4 separate regions of the Homo sapiens genome follow, and regions 1, 2 and 4 are each linked to region 3. Evidence: promoter capture Hi-C in 16 types of primary human blood cells and fetal thymus (Javierre and others, 2016). All regions are on one chromosome and are shown on one strand. The core of a region is centred on a gene start or on the middle of the fragment in contact, and the rest is flanking DNA. Distances in the headings are between cores, read along the strand shown. Region 1 has its middle 140 kb from the start of COL1A2-AS1. Region 2 has its middle 180 kb from the start of COL1A2-AS1. Region 3 holds the start of TFPI2 (tissue factor pathway inhibitor 2). Region 4 overlaps COL1A2-AS1 (COL1A2 antisense RNA 1).

Evidence for each region. Contacts are between HindIII fragments. The CHiCAGO score rates a contact against its expected background, and 5 or more counts as called.
Region 1: a fragment that was not itself captured here is called in contact with the fragment with the promoter of TFPI2 in region 3 in 2 of 17 cell types (endothelial precursors and M1 macrophages); the score reaches 5.3 in endothelial precursors.
Region 2: a fragment that was not itself captured here is called in contact with the fragment with the promoter of TFPI2 in region 3 in 1 of 17 cell types (endothelial precursors); the score reaches 6.8 in endothelial precursors.
Region 4: a contact is called between a fragment that was not itself captured here and the fragment with the promoter of TFPI2 in region 3, in 1 of 17 cell types (M2 macrophages). The highest score is 5.1, in M2 macrophages.

What each region holds. Positions count from the first base shown.
Region 1 is chr7:94,254,758-94,257,507 of GRCh38, forward strand. No RefSeq gene overlaps it. Among named protein-coding and RNA genes, the nearest start is that of COL1A2-AS1, 140 kb to the right of the region's middle. The HindIII fragment of the contact is 1,708 bases long and covers 582-2,289 here.
Region 2 is chr7:94,205,816-94,208,595 of GRCh38, forward strand. No RefSeq gene overlaps it. Among named protein-coding and RNA genes, the nearest start is that of COL1A2-AS1, 180 kb to the right of the region's middle. The HindIII fragment of the contact is 1,613 bases long and covers 691-2,303 here.
Region 3 is chr7:93,889,417-93,892,116 of GRCh38, forward strand. TFPI2 (tissue factor pathway inhibitor 2) reads right to left here and starts at 1,337. Exons shown (of 5, transcript NM_006528.4): 1 at 1,175-1,337; 2 at 721-903. The coding sequence starts at 1,262. TFPI2-DT (TFPI2 divergent transcript) reads left to right here and starts at 1,478. Exons shown (of 2, transcript NR_134235.1): 1 at 1,478-1,663. The HindIII fragment of the contact is 7,194 bases long and covers 83-2,700 here.
Region 4 is chr7:94,371,430-94,374,254 of GRCh38, forward strand. The region is part of intron 5 of COL1A2-AS1 (COL1A2 antisense RNA 1); the gene reads right to left. Among named protein-coding and RNA genes, the nearest start is that of COL1A2-AS1, 19 kb to the right of the region's middle. The HindIII fragment of the contact is 2,789 bases long and covers 7-2,795 here.

The sequences.
Region 1 (2,750 bases), core at 186-2,685, 370 kb after region 3:
AACATACTCTGTGAGATTTATTCATACTGATATATGTAGATTTAGTGAATTCATTTTAACTGCTGTACAACACTCATTGTATAAATAAACCCAGCTTATCTCTCCAGTTCCCTACCAAGAAGCAGTTAATATTGTCTTCACTTTTTTTACTTTTGTAAACAGTGCTGCAGTGAAAATCCCGGTGGATGACCCCTTGTGCACATGTGTGAGAGTTTTTCTAAGAAGTGTAACTAGAAATAGAATTTTAGAACTTCAGGATGCATGCATTTCCATCATTACTAATTGATGAAATATTGTTTTCCAAAGTGGTTGTACCAATTTATCCTCTGCTAGCATTACCTGTGTTCTGTTTACTTACATTTTTACCATTATTTGGTGATAACAGACTTATTGTCTTTCTTATCTCTTGGGATGAAATAGTATTTTGTATTATTCTAATATATATTCTCTATGTATCAGTGCAGTTGAATATCTTTTCATATATTTATGAAATCTTCTAGTTTCCCCTTCTGTGAATTGCTTTTTCATATCCTTTTCTCACTTTTAAATGGGTTGTTTTCTGTTCCTTACTGATATATGAAAGCTTTTATGTATTCTGAATACCATTCTTTTGCCAGTTATATAGATAGAAAATATCTTCTTTCTGTGTAGATTGCTTTTTTGCTCCTTTTATGGAATATTTTGTCATTCACAGGTTTTTTATTTAATGAAGCCAAATTTAACACTATTTCTTTAATAGTTGTCTGTTGTTTAAGAAATATCTCTTACCTGAAGTCATAAAATATTGTTCTTTATCTTTTCTTGAAAATGTTAAAGGTTTACTTTTTACATTTATTGTTTAATCTAGCTGCAGTTTATTTTCGTGTATGGTATGAAAGAGAAATCTAGCATTCTTTTTTCTGTGGATAGCCGGTTGTTGTAGCACTGCTTACTGATGAGTGGATTTATAAGGCCACTCTACACAAAGTTCTCATAGGGAGATGAGTCTGTTCCTAGGCTCCAGATTCTTCTCCATTGATCTATTTCTGTCTCCATATCAATAACACCATCTCATTTAATATGACTGTAAAGTAAGTTTTACTCAGAGTGGGGTGAATCTCTTCTTTTTCTTCTCCTTCTCCTCCTACACCTCATTTTCTATTTCTTTCTATAAAAATATTTTAAACCATTCTCAACCATCTTTACTTTTGTATAACACTTTGCATTTTCTTATGAAGTCTGTAAAGCTAAATTTACTTTATAAATTAATTGGAGAATTGTCACCCTCCAATACTAAGTAAATGTTAGTACATTTACTAAATTTTAGGGAGGGTGTAAAGATATAGTAATGATTTTGTATGTTGCTCTTGCATCCAGGAATTTAGCTTAACTATTGCTGGTATGAACAGTTTATAAATTTTCTTATTAATACATTTTTCCATGTAGACAATTATATCATCAATAATAATGATTATTTTATTTTTTCCTTTCTGATCTTTTCACATTAAAATTTTTTAATTAACTAATTTGTCTTATTCCACTTACTAAAATCTCCAGTACAATATTTAAATGAAATGGTAATTGCAGGCATCATTTACAAGAGACTTAGATGAAGCGTCTAATGTTTCTCTACTAGGTATAATATTTATGAGAGTTTTGGGTTGATATTCTATATCAGGTTAACGAAGTTTTCTCATTTTTCAATTTTATTATAAATTTACAGATTTCTTTGTTTTTTACCCTGAGTGAGTACTAAACTTTATCAAGTAATTTTTCTGAATCTGTTGAGATAATTGATTTGCATCTTCAATCTGTTTATATGGTAAACAAAATTAATAAATGTTGGTCTAATGTTTAATCATTTTGGCATTTCGAAAATGAACCCCATTTGGTCATGCTATATATTTTAATAAATTGTTGGCCTTGTTTTGTTAATATTTTATTTATGATTGATTTTGCATCATTTTCATAAATGAAATCAGCTAGCAGTTTTCCTCTGTGATACTACAGTTCTGACAAATTGTTCCTTTGTGGTACTAGAGCTCTGAAAACCTCGGTTTCACATTTTTATCAACCTCATAGAACAAGTTGTGGAGGATTTCTTTTTTTCTATTATCTAGATGAGTTTATATTAAAAAGAAATTACATATTTCTCAAATTTGTAGCACTTGCTCGTTTAGCCCTTGGAGTCTGATAAATTTCATCTGGATTTACTTTTAACTGCTGAATAAATTTCTTTAACAATTACAAAGTTCCTTAGTCATTTTGGCAAATTTGGCAATTTTTCTATAATTTTATTTTTTTAACTAAAGCTTTCATGTTTATCACCAAGGTAGCTTCTGGACACACACACACACACACACACACACACACACACACAAACACACACACACGGCAATTGTCTTTTTTTATTCCTAATATAATTTATCTATGTCTAATTTCTTTCTTTTTTCATTAGTCTTACTCAAATTGTTCCTATTTTATCTTTCCAAAAAATCAATGTTTGGCTTTATTGACACTCAATATTGTTTCCTTTTTTTCTATTTCTATTTCTTTAACTTTTATTCATTTCCTTTATATTCTCTTCTTTTTACTTTCTTTGGACAAACTGCATATTAATTTCTAGGCTTGGGATTTCCCAAACAAGCAGGAATTGTAAAGTTAAAAAACTCCAAACTCAGTAAGGTAATAGCTTGTGATTTCCAGGAGAGACGCCAAACGGCTTCATTTTTCAGAGCTTCTACTTTTCCTTCTCATCACCCCAAGCTGCC
Region 2 (2,780 bases), core at 247-2,746, 320 kb after region 3:
CTTGAGAGCTGATAAATAGACTCAACTCTTCTATTTTTTAGATGGATTAACTCAAAACAAATCGGACTAATCTGAGACTTCACTTGAGAGCTGTATTAGTTTAGCTCTAAGTTAAAGCTGCCACTGAATAATGCCTAAATATCTTGTGGTCAATCCTTTAGGGTATGTCTCATTCAAATGTGCTGCCTCCATGATTTTTGTGCACTGTGATTAAATTGTGAATTTGTTCTCTTTGACCTCTAGAAACTTTGGGAATTGTCTAAAAAGATTTTTGTTAAAATCAAGATTACATTAATAATAATTTATTATTAAATAATTAATCATCAAGGGACATTACTCTATGTAGATTAATTCCATGGAAAGAAAAGTAATGAGCTGTAAATACACAGAGGAAAAGCAAGATTATAGAAAGAAATATTAAATGTAGTAAATGCAAAAGAAAAAATGTGAGTATAGAAAATCCTCTGTGGAAAGGAAAGCTTGCACTGCGAGGGAAGACAAAAGGCAAAGGACTGAAGGACTTCTCCAACAAGGAATTACTGTAAACACTTTTAGAATATAAATGGAAACATACTCCAATTCTTGACTGATATTTGAAAGCTCCTAATTCAGGAAGGCAATTTTTTTTTCTGAGAAATTTCTCCAGGGATTGAAATTGCTCAATAAGAACATTTGTATATCCATTCTTGAAGCTTTGATTTCAAAAGTTAATATCTAGTCACCATATTGTGTAACTGTGAGGCAAGGAAAGAATTAGCCTTTAATGCTAATTACTTTCCTCCGATACTAGTATAACATTAATCTGGCAACTGGAATTCTCTTAAAGTTGGATATTTTAAATTTTAAATTTCCAATTTAAAATTGGAAACCCCTGTATATTTCTTGCAATTAAAATATTTAATATCATTTTGCTAATATTACTATGGAGTTATCAAAGTGATATCATTGTCAATGTTGCTCATTCCAAAGTGGAGTTACCAAACTAAACTTTCTAGAATCCTGCCAATATATCTGTGTGAAAACAGCTTTCCAAAGTGGGATTCCACTGAGTAGGATACATATAAGGAAGGAATTATGGTGAATGAGATGGGAAAAAGGAATATTTCAAATGTGATCAGTATGATGTAAAATACTTTGTGCCAAGAAGAATTTGATACTAGAAAAGTCAGAATACTTGGGATTGAGAGTACCTCTGCTGTTCTACAGAGATGGGAAATTTATTGGACCTCTCCAAATATCAGCTTCTCTTTTTGTAAAATGGGTTAGCACTACTTATCTCACAGGGTTATTATGAAGATTAGGTAAAATAATGTAGTTTAAAATGTTTTATAAGCTGTACAGCAGCTGTTGTTATTGTTGCCACTGTGTTGTTATTTGTATATGCTTTATCAATAGTCCTCATCCAGGGCTATACATAAACATCCATTGTGAAATATCTTCATAAATGCACATGCTTGGATTCAGTTTAAGTGTTGAAGGTGGGCTCAGTTATACCTATTTTGAAAAGCTATCCTGGCAATTTTGATCCTTGCTACGATCCATGGGGTTTATATTCTATTCTCAAGCCTCAGAATTTCTGGTCCCTAATGTTTACTACTACTGAGAACCAGAAGACCACAGGAAGGCATTCTTTCTCCTTCAGTCCCAGAACTCAATCAATGGTATTTCATATCTCCTAAGTTTCCAGTGAATTGCAGAAATATGGAATTTACTGTATGTAATGAGAATTTTAAATTTGGGGAACTTACAATTCAATAGTTTAAAGAATGTCAGGATTTTGCTCTCCTTCAAATCTCTAGCTTAACACCCATTTCAATTCTGTTACCTACCTAAGTTCTCAGAAAACCCAATCTCACAGTTTCTTTCTTTGGCAATGGTCTATCCTAGAATATTTGTCATCTTTTTCTCCATGTTTCTGTTGGAAGCATGGAAGCATCAGGGTATGGGGTTCTATTTGCTGGTTACCCCATGTGTCCACATTTCTCAAAAAGAGTTGAAAGTTGCCCCTAAACACCTCTACACACACACACACACACAATTGCCAACAAATTCATTCACTTCCATGTATCTCTAGAGTCCACATACAATATACCAGGCACTAAGCTCCACTCAGGGAATACGCATAATCCAATTTTTGCTGTTGAGGACTCCCTGTTGAGTAGAACCACCAGACAGAAAATATAAATGCCAGCAGTTGCAATTTTAGGTAGACATGCAATAAAAGGAAGATGAAACGTATCTTTATCTTAATTTAAGGCAGGGATTCAATAGTGTACCAACCATAAACAAAACCTCACACCAAAAGCTTTGGTGATTAGTATCAGTGGTATCAACTGAGAACTCTAACCCCTTTCAGGACTTATCTCTGTTTATTTTAACACCATTTATTATTCTTTCCAGAAAGTAAATTTCCTAATTGGTGTGATACTTCCCTACCAACCCCATTTGTGCCATTTATTCATATAGTAATCTTTTGCCTGGCTAACTCCTACCTATCGAAGCTCACCTCAAGAGTCCCCTTCTCCTCAATGTCTTTTGTAATCCACCACTGTTCCCTAAATTTAGGCAAAGCCACCTCTCCTTTGCTCCTTCTTGCTAAACACATAGTATGCTAGGGAAAACTGCCTCCCAGATGCAGTTTTCAAGGTGCCTACTTAATTCATAAACATGGAAAAAATCTTAATTACTTTAACTTATATTTCCAGAACTCTTTCTGCTTCCCTTCTGAAGAATTATCAAAGTTTCATATTTCTCATTGTTTGTCCCAGTTTTTAAGCACT
Region 3 (2,700 bases), core at 87-2,586:
CTGTGATGTATCTTTCAAGTTCAGTAGAAAGACTCTCTGTTTTCTCTGGGTGTTCTCTGATTGTACATATGCAGTGAATCAAAGCTTATTCACATGAATACGCATTTTCCCCTGGCTCAGTTCCTTGAATGGAAAAGCCCCATGTTCTCTTACAGGCCTTAACCGATATAATTTAAAAATTAAAAATAAATTAAAATATAACAGTATTATGAATCTCCACCATGTCCCGCAACTAATCCAACACATGTTTGGGTATCGGGACAAAAGTAGAGTTATATAATGAGCTAAGTCACACTTCAATAATAAAATCCACTAAAAATATTTCAGATTGATGGATAATCGACAGAAGGAAATGATGTACTCCAGGAGAGATAAAAATCATAGGTTTGGAATTAATGAAAAATACAGAGAAGCACTTACGTTGTACCTAACACGTTATTCTCTTGCATTTATTATACCCCATGGTGAGGGAACAAATCTTTCCCTGAGTCCGCACAGGCACTGAATTATGATCAATGTCAGTTGGGAGACAGGAAATGTGTTAGTGGTTGTAAATTTGTGATTACTTTTAAGAAACTGAAAACCATGAGGTTTGCTTAACACTTGAGAAAACCCAGGCTAAAACTTCCTGTAGAAAGCGAGACGTGGGAAACTGGCGAAGCTGCTACCAGCCGCCGGCGCAAGGAGCGCGAGAGTCCTGGGTGCGCGCAGGGCACTTACTTTCTATCCTCCAGCAAGCATCGTCGCAAGCCTCCCAGGTGTAGAAATTGTTGGCGTTGCCCTCGCAGCCCCCGTACAGGAACTGGCGGCAGCTCTGCGTGTACCTGTCGTAGTAGTAACGGAGAAGTAGGGCCCGGCAGGGTCCGTAGTCTAGGGGCAGGAGACAGATCTCCGCGTTATTTCCTGAAGAAGGGGCAGAAGGAGAGCAAAAGAGAGGGAAAGTGGTCAGGCGTAGCTCCTAGGAGGAAAGAACATCCCGGGGAGTTCTGTCCCCTTCCGAGCGGAGGGGCCTCTGCAGAGAAAGTGCAAACTTGGGAGCGAGTCCCCCCTGCCAGCGGAGCGCGCGGCAGGGACCTGGAGAAAGCGAGGCTTGGAGGGCGCCTACACGGGGCCCCATGGCCCGCTGCGCCCTCTCCGCCGGTTGGGGAGAGAAGCTCCTGGAGCGGCCAGATACCTGTTGGCTCCTGAGCAGCATCGCCCAGTGCAGCCTCCGTCAGGAAAAGCAGCAGAATCGACAGCCCCAGGGGGCGAGCGGGGTCCATGGTGCAGGGGGTCGGGCGGCCCGCTGGGCAAGGCGTCCGAGAAAGCGCCTGGCGGGAGGAGGTGCGCGGCTTTCTGCTCCAGGCGGCCCGGGTGCCCGCTTTATGCGGGGCGAGCGTCCGGCCGACCCCCGCCGGGGCGGAGCCTGAGGGGTGGCTGATTCATGCACGGGGACTGTCACCCCGCCGCCCCCGCGCTGCAAACTGTGTAAGAGGGAGAGGAATTCCCCGCCAAGTTGAAAAGTTGAACCTGCCTCCCAAACTTTCTCCTGTAGTCCAGACGGGGACGCCCTGAGGGAGCGTTTGTGTCAGTAATGGGAAATCTGCAAGCTAGACGGAAATGACCTGCTAGTGATTGCGCTGTAAAGAAGCCGGAATCCACCTCTTGAAGGCATGAAGTTCAGGTATTTGAAAGGCTGGTGGAGAGAAAGTGCGGAGTTCTTGGGTCAGAGCGGAGCGGGATTCGTTGCAATGGACCTTCAGATTAGATTAGAAATGTAAATAAGTGTATATTTATATTTATACACACAGATTTCAATCGAGTTCTAATTTACATTTAATACAGGCTTATAATATATCGTAGGTGGACAGTTTGATAAATTTTGACAACTGTGTAGCCACCAATAAAGAATTAGAACATTTTGGCTGGGCGCGGTAGCTCGCGCCTGTAATCCCAGCACTTTGGGAGGCCAAGGCGGGTGGATCACCTGAAATCAGGAGTTCGAGACTAGCCTGGCCAACATGGCGAAACCCCGTCTCTATTAAAAACACAAAAAATTAGCCGGGCGTGGTGGCGGGCACCTGTAGTCCCAGCCCCTCGGGAGGCTGAGGCAGGAGAATGGCTTGAACCCAGGAGGCGGAGGCTGCAGTGAGCCCAGATGGCGCCACTGCACTCCAGTCTGGGCGGCAGAGTGGAACTCCGTCTCGAAACGAAGAAAAAGAAGAAGAAGAAGAAAAAAAAAAGAGTTAGAACATTTCCATCACTCCAGAAAGCTCCTGCAGACTTTTTCCTAAATCAATCCTTCCATCCTTAGGCCAGGGGCAAACACTCTTCTCATTTCGATTACCATAGATTAGATTTGCCTATTCTTGAATTTCATATAAACGGAATTATAAAGTATTCACTGTGTAGTATTTCTTTCTCACACTTCCTGTTTTTGAGATACGCCCAGGTCACTGCATCAATAGTCTGTTTCTTTTAATTCCTGCGTAGTCCAAGGTATGAATTTACCAAAACGTATGAATATCCCACAATGTATAAATATGTTGCTGTGTGTATCAATAGTCTGTTCCTTTAAATCATTGAGTAATATTCTAATATATCACAAATGTCTTATTACTGGAATTTGTGTTGTTTCTAGTTTGTTTGGGGGCTCTTATGAAAAAAGCTGCTTTGTGTGGACCTGCAATTTTTATTACTCTTGGATAAAATACTTAGAAA
Region 4 (2,825 bases), core at 151-2,650, 480 kb after region 3:
AAAGGAAGCTTTGGTGTTGACATTCTTCATTTTTAAAATTAGAGTTAACCAAGAGCTGTTCCCTAGGTGAAAAATTTATTTATTTTTTTTTTCTGCATGGCACCTGTTCCACTCACTACCCTCCTATAAACTACTCCTTGTAGGACCACCCAAGCATACAGGAAAAGGTGGAAATGCCATGTTATGGGCTGGATTGTGTGCCCCCCAAAATTCCTGTGTTGAATCTTAGCCCCTAGTACCTCAGAATGTGACTTTATTTGGAGATATAGTTTTTAAAGGGTAATCAATTTAAAATGAGGTCATTAGGGTGGGCTGTAATCCAATATGATTGCTGTCTTTATAAAAAGAGGACATTTGGACACAGAGGCAGGCACAAAGGAAAGACGAAGTGAAGATGGAGGGAGAAAATGGTCAAATATAAGCCAAGGAGTGATGCCTGGAAGAGCGCTCTCCTTCACAGTCCTCAGAAGGAACCAATCCTCCCAACAACTTGATCTCAGGCTTCTAACCTCTACAACTGTGAGACAATACATTTCTGTTGTTTATGCCAGTGGTTCCCAACTCCGGGGCCAAGGTCCTTGGCCTTTAACAAGGCCACACAGCAGGAGGTAAGCCGAGGGTGAGAACATTACCGTGGCATTAGATTCTCATAAGAGCGCGAACCCTACTGTGAACTGTGCATGCGAGGGATCTGGGTTGTGCGTTCCTTATGAGAATCTAACTAGTGGCTGATGATCTGAAGTGGAACAGTTTTATCCCGAAACCATCCCCCTCCCACCCCCGTCCCTGGTGCCAAAAGGGTTGAGGACTGCTGGTTTACACGACCCACTTTGTGATACTTTGTTACAGCAGCCCTAGCAAACTAATACACTCCACTGAGCTAGTTCCAAGAAAGAAAGAACAAAAAAGAGGTCTGACAATGACAAATATCAAAATACAGTGGCTTGGATCCTAGTCTCCCTGCCCCTTCTAAAGACATACCCCAGTTTGTATGTTTTCCTTTCGTGGCATCTCCCTTTTTTCCTGTATCTCCCACTTCCCAAAGCTGCCTACAGACATATTTTAACTAGATATAAGTAGGCCAATTTGATGTAGAGGATTTATAACCTGATTTGTCACACTCACCCACCCTACTTGCCTGCCTCAGAATATTTTTTTTTTATGGCCTGACTTCCTCATAAGGGCCCCTTTTAGCTACAATATCTGTAGAAATGGATGTGGTAGGTCATCAGTGGCTTCCTAGAAATTCTGAGAAGAGGAATGGCATGATGAAAAAGGTACTCTAGGAAATGATTAGTGACCATGAAAAGGAGGATGAGAAGAAGGAAGCAGATGCTGAGAGACAAAAATTATTGTCATTTTTCAAGTAGGTGATATGACCAGGTAGTCAACAGGATTAGATTAGATCTGTGGTTCTCAAACTTGAGTGGATGTTGGAATGAGCTGGAGGGTTTGCTGAAACACAGATTGCTGGGCCAACCCTTGAAAATTCTGTTTCAGCAGATCTGGGGTAGGGACCCAGAATTCCTATATGCGTAACAGTGCCAACTCAATGATAATTGATCATGCATATCATGCAAATTCTATCTTATTTTGTCACCATATTAGCCAGGAATTAGAAGCCTCCACACCTAAAATTAAGGGAAAATATGAACTGATGCCTTCAAATCTGGCTATAGTCTTAAGAGGTGACTAACATTTCTATTCCTCCACTCTCCCCACTCCAGGTGGGAATCACTGATTTATAATTTGCAAAACCCTTACATGTGATTTTCTCTTTAAACATTTTTATTATTTTATTTTTTATATTTTTATTTTTTATTTTTCCAAAAGTTATTGGGGTACAAGTGGCATTTGGTTACATGAATAAGTTCTTTAGTGGTGATTTGTGAGACTTTAGTGCACCCATCACCCGAGCAGTATATATTACACCCTATTTGTACTCTTTTATCCCTTGTCCCCCTCCCACCCTTCCCCTCAAGTCCCCAAAGTCCATTGTATCATTCTTATGCCTTTGCGTCCTCATAGCTTAGCTCCCACATATCAGTGAGAAGAGGCATCACGCTACCTGATTTCAAACTATACTATAAGGCCATAGTCACCAAAACAGCATGGTACTGATATAAAAATAGACACATAGAACAATGGAACAGAATAGAGAACCCAGAAATAAACCCAAATACTTATAGCCAACTGATCTTTGACAAAACAAACAAAAATATAAAGTGAAGGAGGGACACCTTTCTCAATAAATGGTGCTGGGATAATTGGCTGGCCACATGTAGGAGAATGAAACTGTATCCTCATCTCTCACCTTCCATTTGACTTTCAAGAGCAATTGATGAATTCACAAATAATGGTTCTGTTCATCATTCTATTAAATAGGCTTTGAAAATATTACCCCCAATTTACAGATGAAAGAAATGATGATCAAAGGGCATTTTACCCCTCTCTCATTTCTGTTCCTGCCAAGTTTTTAACAATTTGCCCAAAAAATTAATGTCCCAACTCTGGAAGTTGCCCTTAACATATATGATGAGAACAATATCAGGCTGATCATTAAATTCACACAACTAATTTAAAGCAAAGCACCACTCAATCGGAATCCATTAAAAACAGCAAGTCAACCTTAACAGACTTCTCATTGGTAAATTATGGATTGTGCTTGAATGTTCATCCTATAGAACTGATCAAGTTTCTGGGTTTTTTTCTCTGTCCTTAGACTTCATGTTATATAAACAAGTGTCAGGGTATACATTCAGCAAGTTAGTTCCTTGTGAAATGAGGAGAAAATAAGCTTTTCATTTCTGATTTCCTTCAAGTTC